Regions from separate parts of the Homo sapiens genome. Here region 2 is linked to region 1. Evidence: promoter capture Hi-C in human tissues and cell types (Jung and others, 2019). All regions are on one chromosome and are shown on one strand. The core of a region is centred on a gene start or on the middle of the fragment in contact, and the rest is flanking DNA. Distances in the headings are between cores, read along the strand shown.

Region 1 (3,393 bases), core at 771-3,270:
TACTTGTTTGATGGATCTAAAAAGAATAATTCAGTAATGTGGTAGGGTGTGAATCTCAATCATAAAAACGTACAGGTTTTTCTCTGTGTGGGGTCTGTCTACTGCCCACTCCTCATCTGGTGTTGCTAGAAGCTTGTCTAAAGAGATTGAATAATACCTAAAATGTTATTCATCAAATGAAAATGAGGGAAACTTCAGGCATTTTAATTAATAACAGTTCTTTTCAGTTTGCTTATAAAGCAAGCAATGAAATAGTTACTTAGTCCACAATAGCATTAGCTCTGGGCAAGAGGTAATCTTATCACGATGTTTCCTCAGATGTCAGACAGCAAAGGATGGGGTGGGTTCCGTAGAAATAGAGTTTAAACAATCTGTACAGTTTACAGATAACAACATTATACCATCTGAAGGTAAAATTAATGAGATACTAATTTATAGAACAAACACATAAGGTATTTATGTTTACAACAAATGAGCTTAAACATATGTTAGCAATAACTTAGCTAGAAAATATATACTTTAGTAAACATCACACCATGTATTTGGTCCACCTATGATATGCATCACAAATAAATGCCACTTATTCTTTAACCTAATGGATATTTGTTTCTAGGGACAACCCTACAGGGTGCATGCATGCATAATTAAGGAAATAGGTAATCTGAATAAAGTGAAATGATAAAGACACAACCACAGACTCTGCCAGCAGAAAAATTAAATACAGCAAATTAGTTTGTGTGTTTTCAAAGCATGAAGATATAAAGTTTAAAAAAATCTGTTAGAGGAACACTCCAATGCCAAGTATGTGGGAGCAAATAGAATAGCAAAGAAAAAAGACTGGTTTATAAAATTTTCCATGATGCAAAGAACTGAAGCCAATTTCTCCCCAGACAGAGCCCTGATGCTCTGGGCTGCTGCTAGCCAATGTGCAGGGACCTGTCACTTGCACAGTAGCTTTCTGAGACTCACCCTGTATCCCTTCTCCCACATCCCAGCACACACTGAATGCCATTTCCTTATTAACTCCAGAGCAAAGAAATTCTTTGCAGAGCAATAATTGACAGTTGGAGTTACAGCTTGACTTCTTTCCTTTGAAAAATTGCTAAGCATTTGTTTTAGAAAGGCACACTCTTCAGATTCCAATGAATCAGAATCCGACACCATATTTTTCACAGTTTTTCACCTCCGAGAATATCATCAGTTTAGAAAAAGGAATGCTTTCCTTTGAAATAACCAATGTTACCAATGTTACTTTAGATGTTGGCCTGATTTTGGAAACTATTTTGTACAAACGTACTAGAAGTCAGGCCTTTTAACCATAAATGTCATTTCAGAAGCGCCTTATTATTTGCAAAAGTCATAACTGAGAGTGACTCTGAATATCCAAGGAATTATCCCCATCTGTTCCTAAGTGCTTTAACTGGTCAAATGTCAGATATTAAAGGGAAGAGAGCTGAGAGACCAGGAAAGATCAACTGTTCCAGCAAAATATTTAGACTAATAATTTATTAGAACATAAAGGATTATACTGGGAAAACTATCTTATATCAAATGCATCAATTTGTAGTGAATCTTTTCTAAATGTAATAAGTATCATAGGTATAACATGTCAAAGAAAAAAATTAAAAAGCAAGAAAACATGTTTTTGCATGTTAAAAAGAGTAATTTGAAGCAGAAACTTCTCCTCTGTAAGTTACGTTATTCTGAAAACTCAGAAACATATTTTTATTCATCTAGGTGATCAGGAGATTTTATATTAGGAACTGACAGGGATCAGTTTCGGGGCTTATCTCGGTGAGCCTCTGAGCCCCCACAAAACAGCAAAGCTAATCTCTAGTGGTCCAACAGTTAAAATAATTGATGAGCATGTGTTGAATCCTCAAGAGAGGAGGGAGGAAGCAAGAAGGAAAGCTTGAAGGGAGGAGGGGAGGGGGGCAGGTGCTGATTTCAGCCCTGTAGCGTCAGGATTGCGTCAATTCGGGTTCCAGCCACGTCTGGAGTCTCGGAGACGAGCTTCTCAGAAGAGCCAAAACAGGAACCGAGGTGGCAAATCACTGTGCGAGGGCGAGTGGACCTCCCTCTTTGCCTCCTCCCTGTTCCAGGAGCTGGTGCCCTGGGCTCTGCGCTGTTGTTTTCAGCGCTCCGAAAGCCGGCGCTTGAGATCCAGGCAAGTGAATCCAGCCAGGCAGTTTTCCCTTCAGCACCTCGGACAGAACACGCAGTAAAAAATGGCTCCGATCACCACCAGCCGGGAAGAATTTGGTAAGCAAGTTACTGAACTTATGACTGCGGTTATTCCTTGAATACTCTGGGGTGGACTGTTTATTCATTTATTTTTTGCCCGGTTGTTGAATACAGATTTCCTAGGTAGTTAATTTAAAAGGAAAATGAGAATGGCAGTCAGGCAATTGTGGCTTATTTCTGCAGCTTCTCTCCCTTCCTTGGTATCTCTCTCCCTGAAACTGTCTTCTGTTAGGGAGAATTTACCTTCAGGAAGTTCTTAAATTTTCAGGTACTTCTGTAAATTGCAGCATGTACTGAGTAAAGAAAAAGGGGTCTGTTTTTCCCATGTTGGTTTCATCTATTTTGTAGGTGATTCTTATTTGTAGGTAAATCTATATTTTATTAGGAGAAGATAAATATATCTCTGGTTACATTGGGGTTTGATCTTGGTTAAAAAAAGCAACTTGTCTATTGGGGTTTGGCAATGTATATTTTATTACAGGGCGTACCATATGGGTGTTTTTCTCTGCTATGTTTTTCTTGTATCCTTGAAATATGTTGCTAGTGAAAGACAGAATCATATGGTAGCAGGGTTAAAGAGAGTTTCAAAATGAACTGGCTCAGCCCATTTCATTTCACTGCTGAGCTAACCAAAGCCCAGAGAGATGAGGGAAGTATTATAGGTTGCACAATTAGCTAAAAGCTGCTGGAAACTTGAATTAGGGCTCCAATTTTCCCGTTCAGTTTTCCTTTTCTCACACCAAGTTTTTGGTTTCAGTACATAAAATTAGACGTACTTCATAGAGTAAAAAAGTACTATTTTTAGATCTCAGTATATTCCAAAGGAAAAAGGTCAGAATTTTACTTACACGTATTTTTTAAATCATGAAATTTCATAGAAGGTTGTGAAGAGGAGTGATATCTACAGATGTGTGATAATTGTTATTAAGCTGAGTAAAATAACTATGATCTTGACTTTCAAGATTGTAAGACCTTATCAGTAGAGAATACATAGGGAGTAGATAAGTGTTTCCACGTTATAGAAAATGTTTGCCATTTGACATAACTATTCAATAGGGACAATTTGTGATATTATGTTCATAAATGAATTTCTTTCCCAGCCTTCCATTTGGGTTATTGGGTTTATTTTGGTATGACATTTATTCCCAA
Region 2 (3,697 bases), core at 76-2,575, 240 kb after region 1:
TGCTTCAGAGTTCCTTTTGCTTCCTAATAATGGAAATTCACATGAGGAAATACTTTACAATAGAAATATTACAAATGTTTTACAAAATCATAGGTTTGGAAATAATGTGGAGGGTACAGAATTACAGAAAAAAAGTAATGAAGAAAAGGTGGTCGATAACATAAATTAGGCAAAATAAAAGTAACTGAAATAATTTTAATTTTGAACAGTTAAAGACAAAAATAATGTAATTACATATCTTTATAGTTCGTAAGAACTTCAGAGGGTATCTATTCACTTTAAAGATGAAAAACTTAGAGTCCCAGAGAATGTACAGATTCTTTGGTGAAAGGGACTTGCACATCATTACCAACTGTTCAACCAGAGAAGGTCAAGAGGGATTCTGTAACTGGTTTACATTTTCATTATGTCAAGAGCTTCTTTATTTTTACTCTAATACCATTTTTATTGAAATACACTTAAAATTTGAACATATTTATTTCAGAGAAGTATCTGGCATTATCTGACACATTTTTCCCTCTAGAACTTCGTCTTATTGTTTTCATTTTGTGTGAAATTAAATTAGTCACTCACATAACTAACTTATTCACCATAACCTTTTAAAAGATTGGTGGACTATGTTGGTAAATAACTTATTGATGAATTAGTGAATTTTTATTAAACAAAATGTGTTTTTTTTCTTTCAGCAATGACAATGCAGTTTATTAGTCATCAGTTCCCTGATTATCATGACCCTACTATAGGTAAGTGGAAGCTTCCTTTCTCCGTAAGCTCAAATAAAGACACTGTGACTAAGTGGCTTGAAAATAATAGCAATGTTGATGGAAAATAAATATAATTTACTCTATGACCCAGAACACATACACACAAATCTATCATATGTAACGTACCACAACAGAAGCTTCAAGAGACAGTATTTGTCCTTACTTCTTGCCGGGTAGTCTGGTATTATCTATTCTATTTCTTTCTGGTAAATGGTGGTTGGAATCCATTAAGTGATTTCAGTATCTAATAATGGATATCTATCTGCATTTGAGAAGTTTCTCTGGATAATAAAATTGTACTCTGGATAATAAAATTGATGTGATTATATATGTATTTGCTCACTTCTGTCAGTCTCTGAATTTTCTACTGCAGAGTTATTTAGCCATGTTAATGGTGCATTTGGAACGTTAGATATAGACATAATATTATCCATCATTCTCATCTTGAAGGTTAGGAAACTGACATTTAAGGTATTAAAATATTGCTAGAGCCAAAACACCACCCATGTTTTATTCCTCCTACCCAGTTTTCTTTCTGTCATAATATACTGCAGAAGTTTTGCATTGGGGAACAAGTTTTCTCCCTCATTCAAAGCACAAAAGATGCCTTTAAAATTGCTTTACTCATTCAAAAAACTACTTTAAAGAATTGGCTGGAAATTTTCAAGCAGAGTCCACCGTAGTACTCTTTGTCAGAAACACACTGGTATTAAAAACACATCAAGCATTATTTCCCAGAGAGGGAGGCATATAGCCTCATGGCTGACTGGTTGCCTGGATGGTGAGCTCCTTTAACCACTCCCCATTACTTACCCTATTTGTTCCCTCAGTCTGAATATATCTTATCCTCACCCCACCCATGGGTAAGATCATCTAGTTTCTATTATGCTTATCAAGAAATTTTAATTCAAGATCCTACTTGATATATTAAGTGGTATGCTGTAGATTATACTCCTGTATTCTTTCCCAAAAGGCCCCAGAATATTTGCTTGCATACCATTGCTGACATATATAAAACATACTTATTTTTAAATGTCTGATTATTTATTAAGACCACCTCATCAGTTGAAGTAAATCGATTAGATAGATTTAGTACATGCAATTAGTATGTGATAACTGGAAAGGACTTCCTCAACAAGTTGAGGTTTGTTTCTAAAGAGAAAGAAACTACTTTGTAAAGTTTTAGAAGTGGTTAGCTGCAACTGTTGCTTGGTAATTCTCTAAGTCCATTTTCTAAATATCTTAATTCCAGAATGCCAATAGCTTTGTACCACACACTGTAAGTTACACAAAAGGGACAATCTTTGGAAAAATCTCTGAATCTTTTATCTTGTTGGAAAATTCAATAATATAATATATAATTTATGATATCAGAAATTCACTCAGTTGTTTATTATTTTCTGTTATTCTTTAAGCTTTGTATGTATTGGTGTCTCAAAAACCAGCCTCTTGTTCATCAACCTCTCACGTCTAACAGCTTGAACAGGGCAGTAGATGTGAATAAATCATAAATGACTCCTTCAAACAGGAGAAATGAGAAGTATATGATGATGTCTCCTTTAGTTATCCATGAGACACATCTATCACTTGAGATTAAGATACCTGGACATTCAGTACTAACAGATAGCTACAATCATACCTTTATCTGGCTATAAATAAAACAGCTTTAGAAGAAGAAGTTTGAAAATGGAAACATAGAGTACTTTATTACTTTTGATCCGATTTTCCTATCATTTCATTTTGTGGCCTTTCTAATGGGAATATTGGTTAGCAATTTTCCATTGGTATCCTGCTTGCAGAAGGTAAAAGTCTGAAATAATTTACCTTCCACCTGCTTCTGCTACATAACTGTAACTCAATGTGGCTGACTTAATGACCTCTTAAGAGGAAATTCGTATTAGTACAGTTTGAAAATCATTCAAATTATAAAAGAATAACACCTATCAAGGATACTTTTTTCACAATTGAGATAGGAAATAAATATTTTTCAATCCTTCTCTAGATCTGTTTGTTACCCTACTGACTGAGGCTTTTAAATAGCCTTTTGTCTAAAATAATTGAGAGATATATATGGCTTTATTTTCTCCCTTATATTCAGCTTAGAGTTATTCTTCTTTCAAATATACCTCAGTTCTGAAAACGTAAGATCCCTTTATCACTGAAAAGAGTTAGATATATTATTTGATACCAGTGTTCATCCCAAGGAGTAATTGTTCCCCTTATTTATTGGCAACAATCTCAACATCAGTAACCAATGAATTTATAATAATAGAAAGGAAAAGCAGATTGGTTAATATTAGGTTACTTCACATTACTGTCTTTGTAAGGGTTAAAGCAGAGGAGACTTCTTTATTACACTGACTCAGGTAGAATGGAATCTCTTGCTTTCAGAAAGTATTGGTCTGTTCACGGGTCTATTTGCTTGCTTAAAATTTCAGTTTGGTTTTGTGGCATCTAGTGTGAGTGACTTCATTTTGGTTTGGTCTCATCTGTTAGGCCCAGGGCAGGAGCTCAGTCCAAAACAATTGCCTGCCATAATTTTGTGTCATAGTTTAGAGCAGATAATCTCTGCACTTATTTTTGAAAGATGCATAGGAATTAGGCTGGTGAAGAGGAGGGATTGCTAAAACAAAAAGTATAGGCACCGAGACAAGACAGCACAACAAGTGACAAAGCTGGGGCATTTTGGGAACCAGAAGACCAAGGGTGAAGCAAATGGTATAATATGTAGGAAGGCAAGCGAGAGCTAAATACATTACCAGGCACCAGATCTTTGAAGATCTTGCAGGCCTGGCTAAGGGTTTAGATACCTACAGTCTTATACTCTTCTGTGAGAGAAAGATGAATATTACTGACAGCCTGCTTAACTTTTCCATTTGTTAGTTCCAAGGCAGAAAAACTAAACATGCATCAACTTTAATAGCTGATTTTCC

Evidence for each region. The method cuts DNA at HindIII sites, captures the fragments that hold promoters and counts their contacts. A contact is called where the count stands out against the background at its distance.
Region 2: a fragment that was not itself captured here is called in contact with the fragment with the promoter of SYT4 in region 1 in 3 of the 25 tissues and cell types used here (H1 embryonic stem cells, dorsolateral prefrontal cortex and mesendoderm cells).

The regions. Positions count from the first base shown.
Region 1 is chr18:43,276,117-43,279,509 of GRCh38, reverse strand. It overlaps SYT4 (synaptotagmin 4), which reads left to right and starts at 2,020. Exons shown (of 4, transcript NM_020783.4): 1 at 2,020-2,262. The coding sequence starts at 2,229. The HindIII fragment of the contact is 4,332 bases long and covers 1-3,393 here.
Region 2 is chr18:43,030,857-43,034,553 of GRCh38, reverse strand. It overlaps RIT2 (Ras like without CAAX 2), which reads left to right. Exons shown (of 5, transcript NM_002930.4): 2 at 687-743. Among named protein-coding and RNA genes, the nearest start is that of RIT2, 83 kb to the left of the region's middle. The HindIII fragment of the contact is 4,988 bases long and covers 1-3,697 here.